Regions from separate parts of the Homo sapiens genome. Here all the other regions are linked to region 1. Evidence: promoter capture Hi-C in 16 types of primary human blood cells and fetal thymus (Javierre and others, 2016). All regions are on one chromosome and are shown on one strand. The core of a region is centred on a gene start or on the middle of the fragment in contact, and the rest is flanking DNA. Distances in the headings are between cores, read along the strand shown. Region 1 holds the start of BIRC2 (baculoviral IAP repeat containing 2). Region 2 overlaps ANGPTL5 (angiopoietin like 5). Region 3 overlaps MMP10 (matrix metallopeptidase 10). Region 4 has its middle 25 kb from the start of MMP8. Region 5 has its middle 7.0 kb from the start of MMP8. Region 6 overlaps MMP8 (matrix metallopeptidase 8). Region 7 overlaps MMP27 (matrix metallopeptidase 27).

Region 1 (3,907 bases), core at 868-3,367:
ATAAACAAAAGTAATTAAAACCTTCATATGGTCACACTATTTAAAAGCTAAGTTCACACAGCTTATCATCATAGTATTTACTTAAGTGGGCTAAATTACTTCAGCTGACAACTTTTGGGGGAAGTCAATACCCACAAGCTTTGTTGAACCTGTGCCTGCTATAGTGCTTGATGTCAAATGAATTTGGCTTAAAGTTCAAAAACTGTAAACTCTATCTTTGTTAAATATCATTTGTATTTGTTTCCATTTCCTGCAGCATCATGTTGACTTTCTTCCTAACTTTGTATACCACTATTATTCTTGATCAACTGAAGGTATTTTCTCCATAAACTTAGTTAGCCATAAAATTTCCACAGCACACTTTTTACACTGCATTTAAAAACTAAATAACCTGTTCATCATTTAAGGACTATTCAGCTATAATTATCAGTCATGTTGTAAACATTAATCAATTTATCACAAGATAAAACTTGTCCTTTCTAGTGTTATCAGAAACGCCTAACAAAATATTGTACTACCAAAAAAGTACTGCTTAGCATAAAGTATCAGTAATCAACTCTACTAGCCTTCTTTCTGAAAACTCTTCAATGTTTTAAAAATATAATTCATACACAAAATTACACTCCATAGAATTCAAACTATATCCCTTTATAAAGTTTCGAGATCTCCATAATGGGATTTATTACTGCAGGGGGACAAAATAGGGATAGGGAGATTCTTCAGGGTTGTAAATCTGAAAAGAAAAAACAAAAAGTATTTTAGAAAACTGTATGTGCATGCCAAATAGAACTTACATACTCTTCAATTTATTCAGTAAAGTCTAAGAATAATTCACACTTTAGATAATACATCTTAATTCCAGCAATTTGTCACAACTTTCTAAATGAAAAAGCTATTAATTAAAATAAGTAAATGCAACATACTCCCCATAGCACTAACTATACGTGTCTTTAAAACGCACAACTTCAGAGACAGATGGAAATTTTCACACAGGAAACATTTTGTCCTTGCTCTCCTCCCCTTTTCTGGCCTAAAGGTAACTCTGGCACTCTGCTGGAGGCAAAGGCACATTGGTTAAAAAGACAGACAGACACTCCACTACACCCTGTCAGCAGCAGTACAGCAGGAATTAAGACAGCAACGTTAGTTTGTAATATCAAGTCTCTCCACGACTAGGAAAACTGCAGTAAAATGCACCACGAGTTCATTAATATAAACTCTTAAACTCTGCCATTCCCTTACAATTTCAAAGCAACGACCACAGAAAGCAACTCGAAAACAAAACCTAACACAGTGGCCTGTGAAACAGTGGCTCCGGCACTACGACCACTGGCATGATTGCTTTAATTACACCCGGTCTTATATCCTATCTTTAAATGAAAGATTTTTATCTACGTGCACCGCACTGCTGCATTCTCTTTACGCAAATTGCAGCTGGGCAGGGGATAGGATGGAAGGGAAAAGAATAGAAACTATGGGATTTACCCAATAATTTCCCAGAGTTGCTTCTCACAATACACAACAGACGACTACTGGAATGACAGAGCGCAGTGGCAACTATGAAATATGAAATATCGCCGCCACCGAAATATCTTCGTTTCAATGTATTACATTAAAAGAACGCCGAGGGCTAAGTTTAAAACCTTGCAAAAACTGCGAGAAAACATCTTGGTCAAAGTCCAAGGGCCAGAAGAGTGGGCGGCGGCCAGAGGCTTGAAAACAAGTCATTTTAAAAATCGCTTTGACTGCAAGTCTCGAAGTTGGGGCTTCCGAATCCAATAAAACCTTGGCGAGAGTAGAAAGCAGAGAGCCCCCGGCGACCCTCGACCCTTGGCCGAAGGGCCTCAGGCCCCGTCCTTCCTCGTTCGCCGCCACATCAGGGAAGTGGGCCCCCGCGGGCCCTCGCGTCCCCACCCGCCCCACGCCGCCCGAGCCCGGAAGGAGCAGCACTCACCGCAGTGCGGGCGCAGCAAACACGGAAGCTGCGCGGCTGCCTAGAGGCCTCCGCAGAGCCGGGAATCAGCGGCGCCGACAAGGAGATACGGCCCGCTCGGCTCGGATCAGCCCGGGCGCTCCCGAAGCCCGCCGCCCCATCCGGGCTCACTCTGACGCACGATGACGTCAGCGCGCCCGGCCGAGGACCAGCGTTAGCCGCCGCGCGAGGGCGCCCGGGAGGCTGGGGCCGGAAAGCGGAACCGAGAGCGCTTTCCGCCGTGCGGCGATGAACCTCCGGGAAAGACGCTGGGAGGCCAGGATGCCCGGCGCAACTGGACGCTCATCGGGAGTCACGGGGTCGGCCCTCAGGGGAACGGGGACTATCCGTATCAACTCGGTGTTTGTTCGTTTTCTTCACCTTGCGGTTTGTGCCCTCTCCACATTTCCTCTCTGTGTCTACCATTCTCCTGGGGGACGTGGCAAACCGTGAGCCGCTGCGTTTGAGTTTTGGGAAACCCTGCGGAAACGCCCTGGCGCCGGTGGTTTTGCGCGTCCTACCCTGTGTCACCTCAGGGTTATGATCTGGCCCCTGGCAAGGCTCCCCAAGTGTGATGCCTCCCCCCGTCCAGATGACTGCATTTTGAGGATGGAGTCAGTCTGGTGGCATTTTTTGCTTAAGTAAACAATTGTAACCGTTTGTGTAGCATCAGCGTTCAACAGCTGCCTGTGCAAATCGAAAAAAGCGAAACTTTGGAAACTAGGAAGCATCAGATGAATAATTCTGAAGACTTGATGTCAACGGGAGTATCTTGTTTTTAAACTTTTGGTTTTCTGTTCTGGAGACAAACAGTTCATATGCACTAAAGAAAAAAGTGTCATTATTTCAGATGCTCATTGCCAGCAAAGAGAACTGTATTGCAAGTCAGGCTTCACTCCCAGTATTTTCTGAATGTTTCAATAAAATGAAATATATACGTCTGCCTGTGTATTGGTGTACATGCACATATAATTGTACATAAACCAGAGAGGAGCCCAATTTTTTTTAATGCTTAGGTAATAGAAAATTTGTAAATAAAAACCCTTGGCTTTTGCTAGTCATGGACCTTTTGTATCCCCCCGCCATACTCCCCCAATAGTGCCATAGACACAGTGTCGTGCAGTAAATGTTTGTGGTATGACAACCAACGAACGACTTTTGAAGTTGACGCTCTTTGCCCGTTGAATCCGATGCTTGCTTCTCTCTGGGGAACTCCAAGGGGCAAATATTTAAAAAACTTCCAAATAGCAAGCCACTTAATTAGGGAGCCGGGGGAATTCCAAGACCCTGAACCATTTCCCATTTCCTGTCTGTGTCATTTCTGCCTGCCAGTCAGTCACAGAACAGGAGGTCTACTGTTCCAATGTTAATAGTCAAAGAAAGTGAGTGTAACAGTTTGTAATACAGAGAAAAGAAATGCCATGGCTCCCAATGACTAAAAACTTCCAAAAATGCACCTGGGGCTTGGTAGTAGTTTAGTATTTAGTTCAAGTCACTATTTCTCGGAAGGTTTACAGAACATTCCTAACACATGTGGGAAAATATATATAGCAAGAATTGTTCATTCTGAACTCAAGATTATTTCTCTTTTTCAGTTCTTGTCCTGACCAAAGCAGTAAGATAATGAATATACTTAAGTATAGGGGAAAGCTTGCATTTCAAAAACTCAAAAGCCTTAGATATTTTTAACAAAAAATATTTGTAATATTTACATATAATAAATAGTACCTCATAACTTTTAATCTTGTATAACTTTGTAGTCTAGTGTTACAGCTAGTTAATTCAGTTACCTGTTTATTCAGTTAATTTTTTTTCATTTTGCTAGTATAAAGTTGCTGTTAATCTTAAAAAAATAAGCTATGTATGTCTGCTGCAGTTGCCCTTCTAACGTTTTTCACATTTATGTAGAAAAAAAATTTACAGTATTTAAAACAA
Region 2 (3,907 bases), core at 140-2,639, 440 kb after region 1:
ATATATTAGAATTTTGAAAAGATTAATCATAACTACCAAATATAATTTATGGAACAATTAAAACATGTATTTAGAAATGTTGAAAATTGCTTTAATATTACTGTATTTAAACTGAGGAAACTATAAACTGAGGATTGATTCAACAGATATGAAAATATTTTGAAGACATTTCAGGCCTAGATTAAAAACTAGCCCACAACTTTTCAATGAAATATCTGATAGGTAGTAAAAAATCACTTTGCTTAAAAAAAAAGCTGTTCCACAAACTTTCATATTTCAAATATTGTCCTGTGAGTGGCTACCCAGGAAATTAAGAAATTGGTCCGTTTGATTTTATTTACTCATCAGGTTTATTTGTGGAAGTTTGAATTAAATAGCTTATATTTCTCTCTAATGATCAGCCTTGTCTTTCCTGAAATCTAAGCTTTTCTCTATAGTCTTTTTTATTATGTATTAGGTCATATAACATGTTTAATGTATTTTTTTCTTATTTCTATTTTTTAATATAAAGGACTCTTCAGTAGTTAACATTGTAGAAGATGGATCTAATGCAAAAGATGAAAGTAAAAGTAATGATACTGTTTGTAAGGAAGACTGTGAGGAATCATGTGATGTTAAAACTAAAATTACACGAGAAGAAAAACATTTCATGTGTAGTAAGTATTAAAAATAAACAAAATAATAAGAGTATATGATTCATTATTTTTAGGGTAGACACTGAAAAGTATACTTTAGCTTTTGTCTGGGTCATTTTCTATACATCCTGATCATCCTAGGCCAGAAGCTTTATTGTTTGGCCCATAATAGGTGCTTAATAAATATTTGGTAAATGAATGGATCCTTTCTCTATGTAGCTAATTCTGTGTGCAACAAAAGGGTCTCAGGCTTCTCAAACCAATGAGTGCAGCTTTAGACCTATTAAGACAGATGGCTAAATTCAGGAAAAAGCTAATAGAAAGTGACAGACTGAAAATAAGAAAGAGAGAGGAAGCAGAGTGAGGTAGAATTAAAAATATCAAGATTTTTTAATGTGATTCTACTGCTGGTGGAAAGAAAGTTAGAAAATAAAATTTTAAAGAATAACATACGTAATAGTGTGTGGGCCCTTTTGTTATAGGGGGCAACATTATTACTATCTTGGGTAAAACTCACATAGGGTCTGAGAAATATAGGTAGTGAATGTTTATTTCCTAATTTTGGTGGTATGTTATTAGAAATGTCTTTGGTGTAAGAAATATACACTGAAATAGCATGACGGTACATCATGGCAACATGGTCTCAAAGGCATTAGGAAAAAGTTATTTGTACTGTTATCGCAACTTCGCTATAAGAAATTTTCTCTTAAGATAAAAACATTTTTAAAAGGAAAATGTATAGTAAATGTTTAGTCAGAAACCAAATAACCAAAACCTTTGACTAACATTTATTATGTGTATGTATATGTATGTGCTAGCAATTTAATTGTGTAAATATAGTATTAATAGAAAAATTAAAACAAAGATGTACTTTTTAAAATTAACTTGCCTGGTATAAAACTGTCACCACTAACTTTCTTTTACAGTAAGAATTGATGAATCCTATAACTCCTGCCTCTATATATCTCATCTTATAAAGTGAGAATTTATAATCAGAACACTGTCTCTTAATGATAACAGATTAATTATTCTGGGTAATCTATATTAGTAGGAAGCATAGTTTCATTAAGAAGTATTGAGACAATCATTTCTGGGGTTAATCCTGAGTTAAACAAAAGATATACTAACTAAAATATGTAATTCTGAGTATTAAGATAAATTGAGATAGTATTGAGTTAACATACATATCCAAAATCAGGTAAAATTCACTATTTTTCACTGTAATTGTTTTCTGTAACAATATAATATTTAACAGCCACTTTTTATTATGGTTAAGGAAATTTGCAAAATTCTATTGTTTCCTACACAAGAAGTACCAAAAAACTACTAAGGAATATGATGGATGAGCAACAAGCTTCCTTGGATTATTTATCTAATCAGGTATAGATGTTTTAGTATTGTGTTGTTATTGCATGTACACGTTGATGTATAGTTAGCTGGAGGTATAATCTTTTTTTAAAATGCATTCATGTTCAGACATCTATTTAGCGCCTACCATGTTAGAGGCACCATAGTAAACTTTAGGCAAACAAAAAGCAGTAAAAAAATCGAACTTAATTCAAGGGGTATGGTCTAGTGGAGCATTAAAATGTGTTGACAAAAATGTGGTTGCTAGAATGGCACAAAAGAGAACTCTCAGATACAAAAAGCTTCCCAGAGGAGAAAGTCTGTTAACAGTCATGAAGGATGAATAAATGTTTTAAAAATCATAAAGGTTGGGTAAGGCGAAGAGGACATTCCATTCTGGGGAAACTTCTTGGTGTTGGTACAGGGTGGAGTGGCTGGTGAGGTTGAGTATTTAAGGAAAACTGACTATAGGAATAGGCAAGAACGAAGTCATACCACACCAAGGAGCCACTGTAGTGTTTAAGCAAGGAAATGCCACAATCTGATTAACTTGTGTGGCCAATGACTTGAGGAAGAGCCAAAGGAGGAGGTAAGAAACTACAGCAATGGTTTGGACAAGGTATGAAGGGCAGATGTGCAAGAGCAGCCAAATGCAGAAATCGGGGCAGATAAAATCAACGTTAAGGAGGTAGATACTACGAAATTTAATGATTGCTATTTAGCTTTGCCTTTATTCTTTGTTAAAGCAGTAAGAAATCAATCTAGAAAAATGGGCACCATTACGTATTTCAGAGCTGGGTTTATGAGAGGCTTAGAGATGGCAATTTCTTCAAATATAAATTTACTTAAATGTGTATGCATGTGTTTAGGTTAACGAGCTCATGAATAGAGTTCTCCTTTTGACTACAGAAGTTTTTAGAAAACAGCTGGATCCTTTTCCTCACAGACCTGTTCAGTCACATGGTGAGAACTTTGGTATTTCAGCCTTTTCATGTTTGTCTTTTATTGCTTAAAATTTTCCTGGACAGGTCGATCCATTTAAAAGTTTTATTTAAAAACTACAGCTCACCGTTCTCTAACAGACTGGAGGGCTAATACCTGCTATTAAGCAAATTTCACCATAGACAACGTGTACTTTCTTAAAATGGGAAACTTTTTCAACCATGTGAAAGCCATGGCTGTATAAAGATATCCTGAAGCTGTTGAAAATAACATAGCTTTCTATAGCTTTGTTCTGGACTCCCAGTTTATATCTTATTAATAATTCATCTTCAGATAGAAGAAAAGAAAGTTTCAAAGTTCCTCCCACCTGTAAAAAATGTTTTTGACATGTTTGAAATGTTTCAAATTGGGGCATAAAATTTGAAAAGAAAAAGAAATGTAAGACAAGAATAAACTGAAAGTTAGCACTTTTTATACTAAAATACAGCATATTAATTCCTAGAGGTTTGGACTTCTAAGAAAAATACCCTATAAATCTTATAAATATGAATTTATCCCCAAATGTTTAAAGCAAATAAATATTATTGAGGGCCTAGAACATGATCTTTATGTCCTTCTTCGAAAAAGAAGACAATAAACAGTGCCTAAAAATCTTCTATGTGATAGGTAGGAAGACAGGCACTTTCTCACATTATTTTGTTATTAAAATTATTTTATTATATCTCATAACTGCCCCAAAGCAGGCATAATGTGGTAGTCAGGAGCATGGACTCTGATGTCAGACTCCTTGGTTTCAAATTTCTTGCTTGCTGCTCTCTTGATATGTTTTCTCATCAGTAAACTGATAGTACCTACCTCTTACAGTTGATGTGAGGATTAAGTGAATAAATACAGGAAAGTCTCTTAAAATATTGCCCGAATCAAATGTTTATCACAAGGAAATAAAAAAAATGCCCGAATCACAGGCAGAACAATATAAGGGC
Region 3 (3,907 bases), core at 190-2,689, 430 kb before region 1:
CCACTCACATTCTCCAGGCTGTATGAAGGAGAGGCTGATATAATGATCTCTTTTGCAGTTAAAGGTAATCAAATAAAGCATCCATTTATCTGGTGTATTCATCTGTTCAGACTGCTATAGCAAGTTACCTTAGACTGGGTAATTTATAAACAACAGAAATTTATTGCTCACAATTCTGGAGGCTGGGAAGTCCAAGATTAAGGTGCCAGCAGATTTAGTGTCTGATGAGAGCCTATTCCTCATAGATGGTACCTTCTGTGTCCTCACACGATAGAAAGGGCCAGGAGGTTCCCTCAAGCTTCTTTCATAAAAGCACTAATCTCATTCATGAGGGCAGAGCACTTACGACATAATCACTTCCTAAAGACCTAACCTCTTAATACTATATTTCATTGGGCATTGAGTTTCAACATATGAATTTGCAGCAGACACCAACATTCAGACTATAGAATCTACTGTTGTTTAATTGGAACAGGGTAAAAAGAAATTCTGAACACTTATATTTCCATTAATTTGTTCCCTATCAGAACATGGAGACTTTTACTCTTTTGATGGCCCAGGACACAGTTTGGCTCATGCCTACCCACCTGGACCTGGGCTTTATGGAGATATTCACTTTGATGATGATGAAAAATGGACAGAAGATGCATCAGGTGGGTCGTAAACCTCTCGGGAACATTTCAGGAATAATGTCCAATCCTACCCAAAAATAATTGGATTATCTAGAACGAGCAATAAATCGAATATACTAGTAACTGAATTTTTTTATTACCTGAGTTTTAAACAGAAGTACTGTTTGTTTCAATCATTATTGAAGAATTTTATAAAATGTCTGTATTTTCATGTTTGCCCCCACCAAGTACAATATTGTAAAAACCATTCAACCTCATCTCCACAACTCAGGATCTTGTGGGGGTTTGAGGATCAGCATAATTAATAATGTTTTTCATCACTTTAATGATAGATGATTAGGATAGAATGAATTCCATTAAACCAGTTCCAATCCTAACATTTGCCCTCAGGTTTTCTTTCTTTCTTCTCATTGGCCTCCTTTTTACTTAAAAGTAGAGATCAGGAGAAAATGCCAGGAACTGAAAAAAAACTGTTAGGTCATCTTTTCGAATAAACATGTCACTGTCTCTAGCTTAGATGGGTTTTTTTCGCCCTAAATTGGCTTGGAAACACTTTACATCTAAACATAATGACTAAAATTAACTGTATGCTATTTAATTTTTAAAATGGCTTCTGAAGTTTAGAAACACACTGTTGAAATAATCACTATTTCTGACAGTGCCTGGGATTTTTAATGTAAATGCAAAGAACATCTTTCCTGAGTACAAGACTCAGGAGGCTGAGGCACGAGAATCACTGAACCCAGGAGATGGAGGCTGCAGTGAGCCGAGATTGTACCACTGTACTCCAGCCTGGGCAACAGAGTGAGACTCTGTCTCACGAGACTGAAGTTTGTGTTGCATGAAATGATTGCCTTTTATTTGAACAACTGTTCTTTTCTGCACAATTCTTGGAGCCTTGGTTAAATAATATCTACTACTAAATTCAATAAAACCCTTTTTATAATATTTTTAAAAAGCTGAATCTAGCTGTGTTTGTGCTGCAGAAAACTGTTATTGGGCATGTTTCTGTTTTAAACTAAAGATTGTACACATCCAATGGCACCTATTACTGGGAAGATTTTTGACAATCAAAAATTATTTGATTATGGCCAGGCACCAGTGGCTAATGCCTGTAATCCCAGCATTTTGGGAGGCCAAGTTGGGTGAATCACTTGAGACCAGGAGTTTGAGACCAGCCTAGCCAACATGGTGAAACCTTATCTCAACAAAAATACAAAAATTAGCCGGGCATGGTAGCACGTGCCTGTAATCACAGCTACTCAGGAGGCTGAGGCACGAGAATCGCTTGGACACATACTCCAGCCTGGGCGACAGAATGAGACTCTGTCTCAAAAAAAAAAATTACTTGAGTATGATGAAGAGGAGGAAGAGAAAATCAGACTAAACCCCACAAGAAATAACCACAGTCTTCTGGCTTAAAAGTTTGAACGTAAATGTTATATGATTAATTTTAACCAAGGTTGCAACTGGCAAGTGTTCCTAAATTTGAACAATGACTTTTTATTTTTAGACAACGAAGAGTTATATTTACTGACATGCTATTAGTCTTGTCCTTTCAAAAAAAAATCTTTTGAAAATAATGCTTCTCATTTGTCAATATAGGAAAAGTGTCTTAGTTTTCCTGACCAAGGAGGGATCTAGGGAGGGATACGGTGAAAAACTGTCTTATATATTGACTTAAAGTCAACCTTGAAAAACACATTAATTTCTATAAAGTATGGAATGTGCCAATCAATGAACCAATCCACAAATACTGAAAAGACATTGTGGTTTCAAGGATGGCCTGTACAGCTGGCATATGTTCTGTATGTGTATTTATGGAAGAAAGAGCTGGTGAATTCTGAACATTTATGATTTTCATACAGGCACCAATTTATTCCTCGTTGCTGCTCATGAACTTGGCCACTCCCTGGGGCTCTTTCACTCAGCCAACACTGAAGCTTTGATGTACCCACTCTACAACTCATTCACAGAGCTCGCCCAGTTCCGCCTTTCGCAAGATGATGTGAATGGCATTCAGTCTCTCTACGGTGAGTGATGCTGGAAAAATTAGGCATTGCAGATCTACAATGACAGTCCTCCAGAAAGCTTTCCAGTGCTACCTAAAGTATTTCTGATTTGGCCTGAAGCACTTTGAGAATGTTTGAAAGGCACACAAATTGACAGATGCATCACATTTTTTTTTAATGTTTGCATCCCCAAATCTGTTTCCTTTAGGACCTCCCCCTGCCTCTACTGAGGAACCCCTGGTGCCCACAAAATCTGTTCCTTCGGGATCTGAGATGCCAGCCAAGTGTGATCCTGCTTTGTCCTTCGATGCCATCAGCACTCTGAGGGGAGAATATCTGTTCTTTAAAGACAGGTCAGACCAGAAAATTATATTTTCCTATCTATTCTTTTGATGTACAGTGCTTAGAAAGAAAAACAGAAACTTGACAGAGCTTTTTTTTTAATTTTAGGTTCAGGGGTACATGTGCAGGTTTGTTATATAGATAAACTCGTGTCACAGGGGTTTGTTGTACAGATAATTTTGTCACCCCAGTACTAATCCTAGTACCCAGTAGTTACTTTTTCTGCTTGACAGAGATTTTTTAAAATATAAAATTTCCTCTACATTTTAAAATCATTCAGATCTAGTTCTTGCTGAATTTTTAACATCTTCTTAGAATTGTCCAGATCATTTTTTACAGACTTATAAGGGATGATTCTTGGTCCCTAGACTGTAAGTTTGATTAAGGCAGGGAGTTATATCTGTTTCGTTCATTTTTTTAAAATATCATATATCATGGAACTTCTTCAGAAAGCACTGGTGGATCCTTAGAAGCAGGGTGGTATCTTTCCATTTACTAATATATGCTACTATTTAAATTAATTACTTTTGGAAAAAAGTGATATGTGCTTGTGGCACAATATTTAAACACTACCAAAAGATACGGAGTTAAAAAATCTCTCTCCAGTCTTTGGCCTACCGTCCTCCAGCTCCCTTCATATGTGCAACCACTGCTACCAATTTCCTTTGACTCTTTACAAAAATGTTCTACTCATATACAAGCATCAATATACACATAATATTTTTTAAAATATTAGGACATAATATGCACACTGTTTATGGACTTTTAGAATGGAACCAAGCTAAATAATTTTACTGGAACCAGTCACAAGTCCTGCCATCGATTTCATTACCCTGGAATCACATGCAGGAGGATGGTTTAATACAGACTTCTATGAATGGGTGAATTAGCATGGATTTAAAAAAAAAGAATTTTTTTTTC
Region 4 (3,907 bases), core at 783-3,282, 400 kb before region 1:
ATCAGATCACTCTGGTGGAAGGAGAGTTGCCTTTTAAAATTTTTCTCAAATTTCACTGAAACTTTCCTTTTTTCTGAGAATGAATGCAGCCAGGCCCACAGCCATTCAGTCCCCTACCTGTTATCACACTGCTGCCTAGCAAGGCAAGGAACTTGTTGGCTTGCATTTGAAAAGGAGATAAAGAGCAGAACACACAAAGGGGACTAGAGGCATCCAAAAAGGAGAAAATGAAGCATTTCTCCTTGATAGGACAGAACATGGAGCCCAAGGGAAAATTTGAATCAGATTTTTATGGTTGAGAATAACTTAGAGTTTGTCTAGTTTGCCCCACTCTCCCTCCCAGTTAAAATTTCTTAATAGTTTCATGCCAACAATGTACCCACCCATAATTTTTAAAAGCAGCCATCGGGGTTTTGCAAAATTGAGGCACAGACAGTACCTACCTCTCAGATTTGTTGTGAGAATTAAATGAATCTTCATATGAAAAGCACTTAGGACAGTGATTAGTACATGGAAAGTTCTACATGAAAGTTAAGTGTTTTTTATTGTTTTTATATTAACCACAATGTGATATTTTTAGTTATTTTTTGTTACCAGGTATGATGAAAATATGCAGTCCGTGGATGCAGGTTATCCCAAAATCATTGATGACCTCCCCGGAATTAGTAAAAAAAATTGACCTGTTTTGAAAAATAAAGGTAAAGACCATTCAATTTCCTCATTTCACTATCATAAAATTACACATTTAGTGTTACATAGATAAGACAGTAAACTGTGTACACAAAAATATGATATTTTCAAGAGTTCATGTGAAAAATCATTATCTAGTTTCTTTTATTTCTAGGTTTTTTCTATTTCTTTTGTAGAAGAAGGCAGTATGAATGTAATCCTAAAATGAAGCAAATTTTGACTCTCCTGAAAGCTAACATCTGGTTCAAGTGCAGAAATAACTGATGGTTGACTATCACCAAACAGAAAATAAAAAGTATTTTTAATGAGCCCAAAATATGTTCTTTTCTAAGAAACCAGGTATTTCAGTATTTTATTTCAGTCTCTTGGTAACACAAGGCAGAGACATAGAAATACAATCTTATTTAACTTCAATCTGAACATATTCTATGTTAGCTAGAATATATTGCTTCATGAACTTATATAAGTTAGTTTTAAGCAAGTACTAAGGGTTGTCAATCAAGGTCATCCTTAGGTTTTCACAGAAAAAAGCTTTTTACTAGAGTCCAAGACTCTGACTTTAACCTGAGCAGCTGCACATATGGGATGCATATCTCAATCCACCCAAGACAATAACAGCCCTCAGTTTCAACAAAGAAAAAACAGCGTAAAACTGTATCATCCTTACATGTACATGGCAACACTGTCACATATTAAAGAAAACAGACACTTAAACTTCGTATAAAAAATAAAGTGGCTGGGCACAGTGCCTCACGCCTGTAATCCCAGCACTTTGGGAAGCTGAGGCAGATAGATCACTTGAGGTCAGGAGTTCAAGACCAGCCTGGCCAAAATGATGAAACCCCATCTCTACTAACAAAAAATACACAAATTAGCCGGGTGTGGTGGCAGGCACCTGTAATCCCAGCTACTTGGGAGGCTGAGTCACAAGAATCACTTGAACCCAGGAGGTGAAGGTTGTAGTGAACCAAGATCGCGCCACTGCACTCCAGCCTGGGCAGTAGAGTGAGATTTAGTATATATATTTTAAAAAGGTAACTTTTATCAACATATAATATGAATACAGAAAAGCCATGTATCATAAGTATATAGCTGATGACTCTTCACAACACAACCAAGTAACCAGCACACAAAAGAAAATTGCCAGTATCCCCAAATCCCTTCTCCAGGTACTAAGCTTTCTAAGGGTAACTACTATCCTAACTTCTAATCTAATACCATAGATTAGCTTTATCTCTTTCAGTACTTAAAATAAATGGAATTATACATTATATACCTTAGTATCTGACTTCTGTCACTCAACATTATATTTATGAGATTCATCAATATATTTTTATGTAATTTTTGATCATTTATTCTCTTTGCTGTAGAGTTTCCATTGAGTGAATAATTTCCCACAATTTATCTCTCCAGTCTATGTTGAAGGACATATAAGTAGTTTCCAATTTGGGGCTATTACAAATAGTCTTCAGGGGAAGCAGAGCAAGATAGTTGAATAGAAGCTTCCAATAGTTGTCCTCACACCCCCGCAAGAACACAAAATTGAACAACTATTCACACAAAAAAGCAACTCCATAAGAACCCAAAATCGGGTGAGCAATCACACTACCTGGTTTTAACATCATATTAAGGAAAGAGGCACTGAAAAGGGTAGGAAAGACAGTCTTGAATGACCTACACCAGCCCTCTCCTATCCCCCTGCAGTGATCATATGGCATGAAGAGAGAATCTGCACTAGGGGAAGAGGGAGTGTACAGTGATTGTGAGACTTTGCATTGGAACTTAGTGTTGCCCTGTCATTAGTGTTGCAACACCAGGCAGAATTCAGTCAGCTCTTATGGAGGAAGAGAGAGAGAGAGAGAGAGAGAGACTCAATTTGGTGGGTAGGGGGGTGGGGGGGAAGTCAGGAAAGAGAAGAAGAGTCTCTGCCTGGTCATCCAGGGAATTCCTCTAGATCTTACCTAAGACTACCAAGCTGGTACATCTGTGGGTCTACAAGAGCCACAGGTTTACTGGGCTTGGGGTGCCCCCTAAAGCACATATGGCTGCTGTGACCAAAGACTTAGATCATAACAACCAAGTTGCTTGGAATACCTGGAAAGCCTTCCCAAAAAGGACAGGTACAAACAAGTCCAGACTAAAAAGACTATGATAAATACCTAACTCTTCAATGCCCAGACACTGATGAACATCTGTAAGCATCAGGATCACCCAGAAAAACACTACTTCACCAAACAAACTAAATAAGGCACCACAGACCAATCCTGGAGAGACAGAGATATGTGACCTTTCAGACAAAGAATTTAAAATTGCTCTTTTGAGGAAGCTCATCAAAATCCAGGATAACATGGAGAAGGAATTCAGAATCCTATCAAATAAATTTAACAAAGACATTGAAATAATTACGTGGAATCAAGCAAACATTCTGAAACTAAAAAATGCAATTGACATGCTGAAGAATGCATCAGAGTCTCTTAACAGCACAATTGATCAAGCTGAAGAAATAGTGAGTTTGAAGACAAGCTATTTGAAAATACACAGTCAGAGGAGACAAAAGAGAAAAGCATACGTACAAGATCTAGAAAATAACCTCAAAAGGGTAAATGAAAGAGTTATTGACTGTAAAGAGAAGGTAGAGAGAGAGAGATTAGAGTAGAAAGTTTATTCAAATGGATAATAACAGAGAATTTCCCAAACCTAGAGAAAGATATCAAGTACAAGAAGGTTATAAAACACCAAGCAGATTTAACCCAAATAAGACTACCTCAAGGCATTTAGTAATCAGTATCTGAAAGGACAAGGATAAAGACAGGATCCTAAAAGCAACAAGAAAAAAGAAACAACATGCAAAGGAGCTCCAATATGTCTGGCAGCACACTTCTCAGTGGAAATCTTAAAGACCAGGAGAGAGTAGCGTGACATATTTAAAGTGCTGAAGGAAAAAAAATTATCCTAGAATAGTATATCTAGGGAAAATACCCTTCAAACATGGAGAAATAAAGACTTTCCCAGACAAACAAAAGCTGTGGGATTACATAAGCACCAAACCTGTCCTATAATAAATGCTAAATGGATTTCTTCAATCTTAAAAAGAAGGATGTTAATGAGCAATAAGAAATAATCCAAAGGTACACAATTCAGGGGTAATAGTAAGTAAACAAAAAAAACACAGAATATTATAATACTATAACTGTAGTATGTAAACTTTCTATGCAAG
Region 5 (3,907 bases), core at 562-3,061, 380 kb before region 1:
CCTGTATTCTAACCCCAGTAGTCCCACTTGTAAGTATTCATTCTGACTGTGATCCCCAGGAGACTTGTAGGGCAGCCAATACAGAACTATTTGTGAGAGCGGGAAGCTAGCCACCGCCTGGATGGCCATTGTTGGTGAACTGACACTTAGAATGTGATAGCCCTTATCAAGTAAGCTAAAACTGCCACCCACAACCTGGCATTAAGATCTGTTAACAGAGGACAAAATAATGTGCTTAGGAACATTGTGACCACTGTGGAGTTTCTCATTCTGCATTCTCACCTAAAGCAAACTATTCATTTTAATGAGCTTTGGCCAAGTCTTTAATGTCCAGTTCTCCCACTAACCTACCTAGTTCAAAACCTGGGCTCATCCTTACTAAATGAGATAAATGGGATCTATTTGTTTTACATTCTTATTTCGAAGAAGACTGTTGATCTGACCGAACAGTTCACCCTCCGAATACCCCAGTGGACTTTGGCGCCCTCTGCTGGTTTTACAGGGGGCATGATGACCACTAGCATGGCTAAGAGTGACAGGTCTCAGCCATCCGTGACTTCATTGAAGGCCACTGGTTGCGTCTGCTATACACCAGCTTACTCTGGGAGCATTAAGCCATAGAAAAATATCTGGATGGAGACATTTCAAAATGTTAACATTGGTTACCTCTAGAAGAGGGGACTGAAGTAGGGGGAAAGGGGGTTAGAAAACTTCACATTTACTTACCGTACTTCTGAAAGTTTGGAATTTTTTTTTTAATAAGCATGTATTTTTGTATTACTAGACTATTTAAAAATAAGTGATTTTTAAAATAAAATAAATCGTTTGAACAACACTTTCTATATTGCTTTTCGTGCATTACCTCCTTAAAGCCCACGGCTTTGAAATAAGAACGTAAAACAATATAGCAATATAGAAAGTGCTCCTATCCTGTGAGGCTTTTTTTTATATTTAATTGCCAGAGAACTGTAATTTTTATCTGTTATTTTGCACTCTGTGTTAAACATTTTCTACACATCCATATTTAATCTTCACAACATTCCTATGATGTCAGGGCTATTGTTACCACCATTTTACACGCAAGGAATTAAAACTTAGGGATGTGAAGTGAACTGTGTCTAGGGTCCCACAGTAATAAGTGGCCAATTAGGGATGTGCAATTAAGACAGAGAGATGAAGGAACTTGTGCAAGGTCAAGCAAATGATAGAGTGGAGTCAAACCCAGGTCTTCGGATTTCCATTCCCCATGCTAAAGAGAAACAGGCTGTCTGTGAGTACCTCGGGCTTGTCACTTCAGGTTCCTCTGATGTTTGGTCCTGATGTATGAGGCAACCACATCTGTAGAATTTGGAGGAAGAAAGAGTCAGAAAGTTCCCATAATGACCTTAATGTGACATTTAAACTAAAGAAGCTACTCAGGCAGAAGGTCAACTCCAGTAGAAGACTTTGTGGAGACTGAACAGAAAGAGCCTTGGAATTAAACCAAACTTGGATTCCCAAATTCTGCCACACATTACACATCTGCCAGTGTGTGATCTCAGGTAATTCACTTAACCTTTCTGATCCTCAGTTTCTGTATTGCTTTTAAAAGACGTAATACCTAAGAAATTTACATAAAAGTGACTTTGCAAAAGCCTTTATGACAGTACCTCACTTCTAATGAGTATTCAGTAAATACTCACATATTCTTGGCATGGAAAGTCAAAATGGAGAACAGGGTGGGTGCAGGTTATCCTGGAGTTATAGGGCATGGTCTCCTAAAGGGCTTTTCAAATCACATGCAGACCACAGATCCTGAAGTGCCCTTCCCTGTGCAGTCAGTCTACACATTTACTGACTACCTCCATCTCTTCTCATTGAGAATTATTGCCTGTAACAGAAAGATCAATGGTCCCAAAAATGCCCACATCCTGACCCGTGAACATGTTAGCTTACATGGCAAAAGAGGTTTCACAGGTGTGATTTGGGTTAAGGACCTTGAAATGGGAGATTAGCATTATCTCAGTGGGTCCAATCAAATCACCTGAGTCCTCACAAGTGGAGACCCTCCCCCAACTGTGATCAGGGAGAGACAAGAAGATGGAATAAGGGTTAGAGAGAAGTGATATTGCTGGTTTTGAAGATGGCAGAGGTGGAAATACAGGCCAAGGGATGCAATAGCCTCTAGAAGCTGGAAACAACACAGAAACTGATTCTCCTCTATAGCTCCCAGAAGGAACACAGCACTGCTAACATATTGATTTTAGCCCAGTGAGACCCATACCAGACTTCTGACCTGCAGAATCGTAAGGCAATGAATTTATCTTGTTTTGAGCCATTGGACGTGTGGTTATATGTTACAGCAGCTGCGGAAAACTAATCCACTGCCCCTGACAAGCCAATGTCACCAAAGGGCATATGTGGTGTCTTTCTGATATTTTAGGTTAAAAAATAAATTCAGGTTGAGAACCATTGATCAAGAGGAGTGAGAACAGAATCTAGTGGGGACTATATAGATGTGAGACAGTTTATTGAGATGAATTCTCACAGACTCCAACAGGCGTATGTGGGTGACAGCTGGTTGGGCTCCAAGGGGGATGGGAGCCAGATGTGTGGTGTGAGGAGCAGGTGTGTGATGTGAGGAGGAGCAGGTGTGTGGTGTGAGGATTGGGTGTGTGGTGTGAGGAGGAGCAGGTGTGTGGTGTGAGGAGTGGGTGTGTGGTGTGAGGAGGAGCAGGTGTGTGGTGTGAGGAGTGGGTGCGTGGTGTGAAGAGGAGCAGGTGTGCGGTGTGAGGAGTGGGTGCGTGGTGTGAGGAGCGGGTGTGTGGTGTGAGGAGTGGGTGTGTGGTGTGAGGAGGAGCAGGTGTGTGGTGTGAGGAGTGGGTGTGTGGTGTGAGGAGAAGCAGGTGTGTGGTGTGAGAAAGAGCCGGTGTGTGGTGTGAGAAGGAGCGGGTTTGTGGTGTGAGGAGCGGTTGTGTGGTGTGAGGAGTGGATGTGTGGTGTGAGGAGGAGCGGGTGTGTGGTGTGAGGAGTGAGTGGTGTGAGGAGTGGGTGTGTGGTGTGAAGAGGAGCAGGTGTGTGGTGTGAGGATTGGGTGTGTAGTGTGAGGAAGAGCAGGTGTGTGGTGTGAGGATTGGGTGTGTAGTGTGAGGAAGAGCAGGTGTGTGGTGTGAGTAGTAGGTGTGTGGTGTGAGGAGGAGCGGGTGTGTGGTTTGAAGGAGTAGAGGCACTGACTGGGCTTCCAAGAAGTTTGACAGTGAGGGAAAGGAAACAGGATGGTAACTCAAGTGATTAATAGGGTAGAAAGAAGTCTGTTGTTTGGTTTTATTTTGTTTTACTAGAGAAACCATGTAGGCAAACAGGAAGCAGCCAGTGAGGGAAAGGAAATAGCGGGGGAATGTGTAAGGAGAATAGTTCTGGTGTGGAGATACAGAAAGAGTCCCATGGACACACTAAGAAATTGAATATTTTGGTGGTAAAAATGAGAGAAAACGAGGGCATTTACTTAAAGTGGGAAGTAATACCTTGCTATAGCTAGACATTGTTAGAAAATCAAGAATGGAGAAGATTTAGAAAAGACAGTGCCTCAGGAAAAATGAAAAATGAGGCATTCCAGCCACACAGCTGGATTGATTTAGTAGAAAAGAGAGTTTTGGCAAAATCCACTTCGCAGTTTCCTGCCTCTACATACACAGAGCGGCCTGGAATGGAAATGTTTACTTTTCTGCCATCTGTTCTCGTGGGTCTGTCAAACTAGTTTCTGGACAGTCGTTGACTCTCAATGGGTCATTTTCTCCATTCTTTCTTATCCTCAACACCCTCTAGTTGGGAGGACAATAGATACAGGGGCAGAAATGGAAATGTTTGGGGCTAATCAAAACCATAAGGATAAGATCCTCCATGCTCACTCTAGCTACTCTCTCACTTG
Region 6 (3,907 bases), core at 658-3,157, 370 kb before region 1:
GTGGTCCCTTTCAGGTTCATGGTGAGCTAATGACAGCATTAAGCTGGCCAGGCTTTTGCCAGAAGACTAGGGTTGGGCCCCATCAGGACCACTAACTACTGTGTGAACCTGAGTGGGTTATTTGCTTTTCAGCCCTCAGTTTTCTCACCAACAAAATGAGACCACACTAGACTGTCGTTAGCATTCTTTCATCCTCATCCCAGATACAATTCTCTAAGACTCCTCAAGCTGTAATTTGGTTTCTGCATAAAAGTCACACAAACTAAGGCATCCAATTGTGGGGCCTTGAATGTCTTGCTCAGAAGTTTTTATTTTTTATAGGCTCTGGGGAACCATTAAGGCTCTCACAGCCCCCCTGAACTTAACTTTATCATCTTCATCTTTTAAAGACTATTTGTTCCATTTTCATATCTATGTGCAAGACCAAGAAGTGGTATATATATATATATATATATATATATATATATATATATATATAATTTTGTAAAAATGGAAAAGTCGTATTTAACACTTAACCTGAATCATTGACAGGCAACCAATACTGGGCTCTGAGTGGCTATGATATTCTGCAAGGTTATCCCAAGGATATATCAAACTATGGCTTCCCCAGCAGCGTCCAAGCAATTGACGCAGCTGTTTTCTACAGAAGTAAAACATACTTCTTTGTAAATGACCAATTCTGGAGGTAACGTAAACTATTTTTTCAATTATAGGTTGAAATCTGTGTTTCTCTACCCTGCTTACAAACCTTCAAGCATTTCAAGGTTTAAAACAATCTAGATAGTCTCTAATAGGTTTTACCGAGAATATATTCTTTTTTACAGGATGATTGATGTTACCATGGCTTTTGAAATTTTTCATTTCTATAAAATTAAAATGTCTATGCAATAGTATTGAGGATTCTGCATCAAGAAACAAAGAAAACCTTAACAAAGCACTAGGGTGAGATACAAAGAAAGATTTAAGCTAATTCTCACTTATGAGTTCAACTCAGACATATGCAAGCAAATGTTATCCAGATAGCCTGCAGAATTTGGTTCCCAAGTTGAACCTATTATGTATGTTTATATATCTATATACACACACAAGGGAGTTATACTATATACCAATTAAGTAAAAGCCTTGAAAATATAAGCTTACTTTGGGTAATAACAGTGTGTCAGCCATCAAGCCTGTTTTAGAATTAATGATAACCATATGTTTTATAAATGTGTACCCTTAGGTAGAGAAATTAACCATTCTTAATCCTAGTAAACAGGGCATTGTGAGAACTGAATGAAAAAATATGTGTGAGGAGACTTTGTAAATTATATACAATAAAAAAAATTTTTTTCGTTATATTCTGTATTGGTGTTAAATCGGATAACATTTTGTTTTTACCAGATATGATAACCAAAGACAATTCATGGAGCCAGGTTATCCCAAAAGCATATCAGGTGCCTTTCCAGGAATAGAGAGTAAAGTTGATGCAGTTTTCCAGCAAGAACGTAAGTAGGAAAAAAAAACCTAATAAATGTGTTGTTTGTTTGTTTATTATAGAGGAGACAGGGTCTTACTATGCTGACCAGGTTAGTGTCAAACTCCTGGCCTCAAGCAATCCTCCCACCTCAGCCTCCCAGAGTTCTGGGATTACAGGCATTAGCCACCGCACCTGGTGTTTAAATTTTTTAAATAGCATGTTTGCATTTGAATGTTATGTTGGAACAGGGGCAGGGTTTTCTAACTGAAGACATCTGAGATATTCTATAAGCTAATTCAATAAATTATCTCTCTTTTTTTATAGATTTCTTCCATGTCTTCAGTGGACCAAGATATTACGCATTTGATCTTATTGCTCAGAGAGTTACCAGAGTTGCAAGAGGCAATAAATGGCTTAACTGTAGATATGGCTGAAGCAAAATCAAATGTGGCTGTATCCACTTTCAGAATGTTGAAGGGAAGTTCAGCAAGCATTTTCGTTACATTGTGTCCTGCTTATACTTTTCTCAATATTAAGTCATTGTTTCCCATCACTGTATCCATTCTACCTGTCCTCCGTGAAAATATGTTTGGAATATTCCACTATTTGCAGAGGCTTATTCAGTTCTTACACATTCCATCTTACATTAGTGATTCCATCAAAGAGAAGGAAAGTAAGCCTTTTTGTCACCTCAATATTTACTATTTCAATACTTACATATCTGACTTCTAGGATTTATTGTTATATTACTTGCCTATCTGACTTCATACATCCCTCAGTTTCTTAAAATGTCCTATGTATATCTTCTACATGCAATTTAGAACTAGATTTTGGTTAGAAGTAAGGATTATAAACAACCTAGACAGTACCCTTGGCCTTTACAGAAAATATGGTGCTGTTTTCTACCCTTGGAAAGAAATGTAGATGATATGTTTCGTGGGTTGAATTGTGTCCCCCATAAAAGATATGTTGAAGTTCTAACCCCAGGTACCCATGAATGTGAGCTTACCAGGGTCTTTGCAGATGTAATTAGTTAAGTTAAGGTGAGATCACACTGAATTAGGGTGGGCTCTAAATCCATTATGACTGTTGTTCTTATAAGAAGAAGAGAGGCATAGTCACCTAGGGGAGGAGGCCGTATGAAGACAGAGGCAGAGATTGGAGTGACGCATCTCCAAGCCAAGGAATTCCAAGGACTGTAAGCCACCAGTAGAAGCTTTGAAGAGGCAAGGAAGGATTCCCTCCAATAGCCTTCAAGTGTGACCCTGCTGACACCTGCAGAATTCGGACTTCTATCCTCCAAAACCGTGAGGGAATAAATTTCCTTTGTTTTAAGCCACCAACTTTGCAATACTTTGTTACAGCAACCCTAGACATGAGGTACTAGACACAGTACATCTACACATATGAAAATGAATCAACACAGAATGCAGAAGTAGAACCCTTGCTAAGGACTACTGGGCATCTTCCCAGGACAGCAGCCAAAAGAGAACCACCACTTCCTCTCCTGCCTCCTCCTTGCTCTCTCCTAGAGTCCAAACCCAAATGGGCCAGTTGGATCTGATGTTCGTCAGTTCTTTACTTCTATTTCCTGGGGTACTCAGGAGGGCACACACTATAGATAACTTGGGTTAGCTGCATAAAATTCAATGTCTCATTAAGTTGCATTAAACTGAGCTTAGATGTGTAAGTTTGCTAACGGATGGGTTTTTTTGTTAAGAACTATAGGATTTATGGGACCAAGTCTAGCGAGTCCAGATATCAAAATCATTATAATGTTATATTTGCTGTTATTAGAATATAATATAGCTTATTATACAATAAATATGTAGACTGTAAAATATATTTCTCACTAGTACCTCCTATTTTCTTTCTCTGTTGAAGTTTTTAAATCCCACAGATAATTAAATTGGCACCTTTATGCTTGTTCAAAAATTAAAATAATCTATTAAATAAGTTCAAATTAAAGATTTTTACTTCAAATGACTGATTTGTGATTTGCTTTTAATTTCTTAAAATGTTACCACATAATTCATCTAAAGTATAAAAAGGAATAGCAAATTTTAGATGTTGTGCAGATATATAATGCTTGTGTCAGAATTATTATAATATTGATAATAAACTTTAGATATTGCTTCAGAGTGTGTGAAATATTTTATAAATATTTGAGGTCCTCAAAAATTTCCTCAAGTATGTTAATACATTATTCTCAAATTATTTTACAAAATAAGAAAACTGAAACAAGTATATATTATCATTCCATTCATTGATTTATTCAGCAAGAATTAACTACCTACCTACTATTAATTATGTTTCAGGGACTGTGCTAAGAAAAGTGAGAGAGATGTATAAGCGATTCATCATATCAACGTAACAAATGCAAAAGGATCTATAAGAATTGAATATTCCATTTTTAATAGTAGCATCAATTTCAGACTATCATGTTTC
Region 7 (3,907 bases), core at 514-3,013, 350 kb before region 1:
CATGGTTGGAGTATTTACATCTGAAAATCAGCAAATGATTAAAGTCATGTCTTCTTCCCACCTGGAGAGCCAGTTGTTAAACATGGGTCAGCACCTCACTGAACGTTTCTTAAAGTTGCATCAATAAAGTGTTAGCTGTAGTGGGAAATCCCTTCTCTCACTACAATTTATTGAACTTAAGTTACAGCATGGTGTGTCAGTTATGTAGACCATGACCATATTTTTATAGCAAAATACCAAGACATACACCATTGACAAAGATATAGGGGCAAAAGGAAAGAATATTTGAAATTGGACTCCTTTCACCCATGAATATATCGCGTTACAATCACATGTTATCACCACCATTCTCTGACCAGCAGAGGCCAAGAGCTACCCACCATGAATGTCACAGAGGAGTGGCCTGTATGTGGAGGGAAATGGAATATAAGGACTTTTCACGTCTCATTCATAGACTCAGAATTTTGCAGCCAGAAGGGAAATTCTGAAGAAGTATTTTCGCATGTCAGTGATTACATTTCTTTATTCCAGCAAGCATCTGCTTCAAAAAGTTCCTCTTAGGAATGCTTGGTGTTGGCTTAGAATGTTGGGTGTTGCTGCTTTGGCAAAAACAAAACCATTGAGCACTCAGAACTCAGAATAAGATTTCCATGATGAGTTTGCCACTCTACGGATCCAAGAGTGGGCACAAAGGCATGTCCTGGACTTGGAAGTCCCAAACTGAACTGAACTCACAATCACCTAAATTTACTGGGGAAAATTATGCTAATTATCTCAATTATTTGAGGAAGATACCAACCAATTAGCTAAAAGGCAAGCCTAAGATTACAAAATTCTCATTGACATGGAAATAGGCTGCATGTGTAAAGTGTTTTTTGTTTAACACAGGCACCTATGGAGGATCTATTATGATATCACGGATGTTGAGTTTGAATTAATTGCTTCATTCTGGCCATCTCTGCCAGCTGATCTGCAAGCTGCATACGAGAACCCCAGAGATAAGATTCTGGTTTTTAAAGGTAACCTGGCCCATCCCGATTCCTCTTCTCCCTCTGGCTGCCTGAACTAACCAGTGGATATTTTGGTGTAAGAAATAAAATCTTCATGCATGAGCCAAGGCGCAGGGCTTTTGCTCTCATCTTAGGTTCCTGTCGTAAAGAATATAAATAACCAGGATTCTCTGTGGCTGTGAAGATAAACACAATCCTAGTTGCACAGGGACTAAAATAAACCTGTGTGATAAAAACTAAAAAAGTCTCTTTTTCTGCCAAATAAAGGTAATTAATCTGTCTTTAATGTTCACTTTTTACTAAGGTTGCCAGATTTGGCAAATAAAAATATAGGACACTATAAATTTCAGATAAACAACAAATAATTTTTTGGTATATATATATATCCCTTAAAATATTTTGTATTTATTTATACCAAAAGTTAGTCATTGTTTACTTGAAATCAAATTTAACTGACATTTTCTGTTTAATGATCATGATCTTATCAGATTACTAGCCTTTGAGAGCACTTGGGGGCTGAAACTTAGGAGAACATGTCCAAACATACTTCATTTTAAAAATTTCAATTGACATAATAATTGTACATATTTATGGGGTACAATGTGATGTTTAAATACATATATGCATTGCTTACTTGATTGTTTTGACAGAGTTAGCCAATTAAAAGCAATCAATGCAATGAAACCAATTGACAAAGGTACGCATACTATTGACTTTTACAGGTATATATTATTTGTGTAATATAAATAATATGAGCAGCTAAAGAAAGTGGTAGGAATGAATGTGGACATAAGATTATTAAATCTCTAAGCACTGAAGCTAAAAGGAACTAGGTATCTAATGATTTTTAAATTTCTTGAGATACCTATTTCTCCCTCTAGAAAATAAATAATCACTCCTCTCTTCCTAGATGAAAACTTCTGGATGATCAGAGGATATGCTGTCTTGCCAGATTATCCCAAATCCATCCATACATTAGGTTTTCCAGGACGTGTGAAGAAAATAGATGCAGCCGTCTGTGATAAGACCACAAGAAAAACCTACTTCTTTGTGGGCATTTGGTGCTGGAGGTAAGTTTACAGACAATTGACACTTTGTTTTATTATGGAGAAAAATATTCACAATAGCATCACTTTGACACAGACAAAATTAAAATGAATCCATAATATTTTTTATTTTTTTATTTTTTTTGAGATGGAGTCTTGCTCTGTCTCCCAGGCTAGAGTGTAGTGCTGCAATCTCTGCTCACTGCAGCCTCGACCTCCTGCTTTCAAGAGATCCTCCTGTCTCAGCAACCCCCAAGTAACTGATACTACAGGCATGTGCCACCACGCCTGGCTAATTTTTGTACTTTTTGTAGAGATGGAGTTTCACCATGATTCTCAGTCTGGTCTCGAACTCCTGGGCTCAAGCGATCCACCCACCTCGGCCTCTCAAAGTGCTGGGATTACAGGCATGAGTCGCCACGCCCAGCCCATAGTCTTCTTAAAGTGAATAATGAAGGCAGTGGATGACATTTATCAAGCCGAAAGAGATCTCAATGAGTCTAATGACTTTCCTTCAATTTAAAAAAAAAGATAAGATAAAATAAAAAGTTGGTGATCCCAACCAAATTGCCAATGACACAAACATATCTAGTGAAAAATTTTGAAAGCTCCAAGCTCAGCCTTCAATCTGATGTAACGATTTCTCTGAATAGCATCAATCTAACATATGTTGTGCCCTTTTTCCCTGATCATTTCTTGTTTGGAAGATTCTATAAATGATTCAACCAAACATAATCTTTACTGTATTTTTATTATTGATCCAATTAGTTTTCCTCTACTATGCCTATGTATTCCCCACATCCCTGCTTGACTCTAAGTTGTGCGGTAGACAAATTAAGCTCCCCAAACCAAAGATCCGCTGGTATCCTTTCATATTCTTGTATGCAGGTTTGATGAAATGACCCAAACCATGGACAAAGGGTTCCCGCAGAGAGTGGTAAAACACTTTCCTGGAATCAGTATCCGTGTTGATGCTGCTTTCCAGTACAAAGGTAAGCATGGATGTCTCACTTATTGGGATACTTGAGAGACTGTGTTGACTGTGAAAAAAGACAGCACAAAAACTTAAATGCTTTTATTTTAATGCAATTTTGCTACTCTTAAGTATATACAATAATAAACATTAACCCCACAAACATTATCACAAACTGAATCCATAAATCCTGAATTATACTCTCTGTTATACTATCTCAAATCTATGTAAAAAGTACCAAATCCATTTTACTCATCATTGATAAGTAAAGACACCCCCTAAAGTGTGCGAAGTGACTAAGCACATGAACAAAACAATGATTCTCAAACTTTAATGTATGTACCTTAATGTACATAGCTTGGGGTTTGTGTGTGAAACAAAGTATTTGAGGCAGAATTGTGAGTGATACCTAAGAATCTGCAGTTTTAAAAGAACCTCAGGCAATGTAATGAATACAATCCAGCAACTATATCATCCAAGACAATGACCTAGACCATGGGGTAATCTAGAAATATCTTTGAGTGACATGATCTATTATTACAATGAAATCTAACACAGAACCTCAAAACCTAAAACAGATCAAAGTAGAACGGCTCTAAGAAAATGAGAATATAGAGACCAAGGCCATATCCACAGGGGCCTTTTCCTCCCCCTCACTGAGACACTTTGTTGAAGCCTAGTTTGAAAACCTCTGGCATAGACCACAGTCTGGCTAGAAAGGTAAAAAGTCCCTTGAAACTCACCCTTTATAACACTGGCTTCCTCCTTAGGGAAATAAAAATAATAGGATTTCCCACATGACAGTAGAAAACTAAAATGTATGTATGTGATTCCACAAATTTCTTCGTTCTCCATAATGTTATTTTTTTCCATGTTTA

Evidence for each region. Contacts are between HindIII fragments. The CHiCAGO score rates a contact against its expected background, and 5 or more counts as called.
Region 2: a contact is called between a fragment that was not itself captured here and the fragment with the promoter of BIRC2 in region 1, in 1 of 17 cell types (total B cells). The highest score is 5.6, in total B cells.
Region 3: a contact is called between a fragment that was not itself captured here and the fragment with the promoter of BIRC2 in region 1, in 4 of 17 cell types (M0 macrophages, M2 macrophages, monocytes and 1 more). The highest score is 8.7, in M0 macrophages.
Region 4: a fragment that was not itself captured here is called in contact with the fragment with the promoter of BIRC2 in region 1 in 3 of 17 cell types (M1 macrophages, M0 macrophages and M2 macrophages); the score reaches 8.7 in M1 macrophages.
Region 5: a contact is called between a fragment that was not itself captured here and the fragment with the promoter of BIRC2 in region 1, in 5 of 17 cell types (M1 macrophages, M0 macrophages, M2 macrophages and 2 more). The highest score is 18.2, in M1 macrophages.
Region 6: a fragment that was not itself captured here is called in contact with the fragment with the promoter of BIRC2 in region 1 in 5 of 17 cell types (M0 macrophages, M1 macrophages, M2 macrophages and 2 more); the score reaches 21.9 in M0 macrophages.
Region 7: a fragment that was not itself captured here is called in contact with the fragment with the promoter of BIRC2 in region 1 in 4 of 17 cell types (M1 macrophages, M0 macrophages, M2 macrophages and 1 more); the score reaches 13.2 in M1 macrophages.

What each region holds. Positions count from the first base shown.
Region 1 is chr11:102,345,424-102,349,330 of GRCh38, reverse strand. BIRC2 (baculoviral IAP repeat containing 2) reads right to left here and starts at 2,117. Exons shown (of 9, transcript NM_001166.5): 1 at 1,955-2,117; 2 at 1-733. RefSeq lists an enhancer at 1,496-1,565. The HindIII fragment of the contact is 3,484 bases long and covers 141-3,624 here.
Region 2 is chr11:101,903,852-101,907,758 of GRCh38, reverse strand. ANGPTL5 (angiopoietin like 5) reads left to right here. Exons shown (of 9, transcript NM_178127.5): 3 at 512-656; 4 at 1,912-2,015; 5 at 2,852-2,945. Among named protein-coding and RNA genes, the nearest start is that of CEP126, 9.2 kb to the left of the region's middle. The HindIII fragment of the contact is 1,205 bases long and covers 787-1,991 here.
Region 3 is chr11:102,775,370-102,779,276 of GRCh38, reverse strand. MMP10 (matrix metallopeptidase 10) reads left to right here. Exons shown (of 10, transcript NM_002425.3): 3 at 1-64; 4 at 528-653; 5 at 2,501-2,665; 6 at 2,853-2,997. Among named protein-coding and RNA genes, the nearest start is that of MMP10, 3.3 kb to the left of the region's middle. The HindIII fragment of the contact is 2,277 bases long and covers 301-2,577 here.
Region 4 is chr11:102,748,114-102,752,020 of GRCh38, reverse strand. No RefSeq gene overlaps it. Among named protein-coding and RNA genes, the nearest start is that of MMP8, 25 kb to the right of the region's middle. The HindIII fragment of the contact is 325 bases long and covers 1,870-2,194 here.
Region 5 is chr11:102,730,041-102,733,947 of GRCh38, reverse strand. No RefSeq gene overlaps it. Among named protein-coding and RNA genes, the nearest start is that of MMP8, 7.0 kb to the right of the region's middle. RefSeq lists silencers at 403-452, 573-622. The HindIII fragment of the contact is 7,810 bases long and covers 1-3,907 here.
Region 6 is chr11:102,711,334-102,715,240 of GRCh38, reverse strand. MMP8 (matrix metallopeptidase 8) reads left to right here. Exons shown (of 10, transcript NM_002424.3): 8 at 532-685; 9 at 1,384-1,487; 10 at 1,784-3,445. The coding sequence ends at 1,893. Among named protein-coding and RNA genes, the nearest start is that of MMP27, 7.5 kb to the right of the region's middle. The HindIII fragment of the contact is 1,540 bases long and covers 1,138-2,677 here.
Region 7 is chr11:102,692,079-102,695,985 of GRCh38, reverse strand. It overlaps MMP27 (matrix metallopeptidase 27), which reads left to right. Exons shown (of 10, transcript NM_022122.3): 7 at 889-1,019; 8 at 1,921-2,080; 9 at 2,945-3,048. Among named protein-coding and RNA genes, the nearest start is that of MMP27, 12 kb to the left of the region's middle. The HindIII fragment of the contact is 4,808 bases long and covers 1-3,907 here.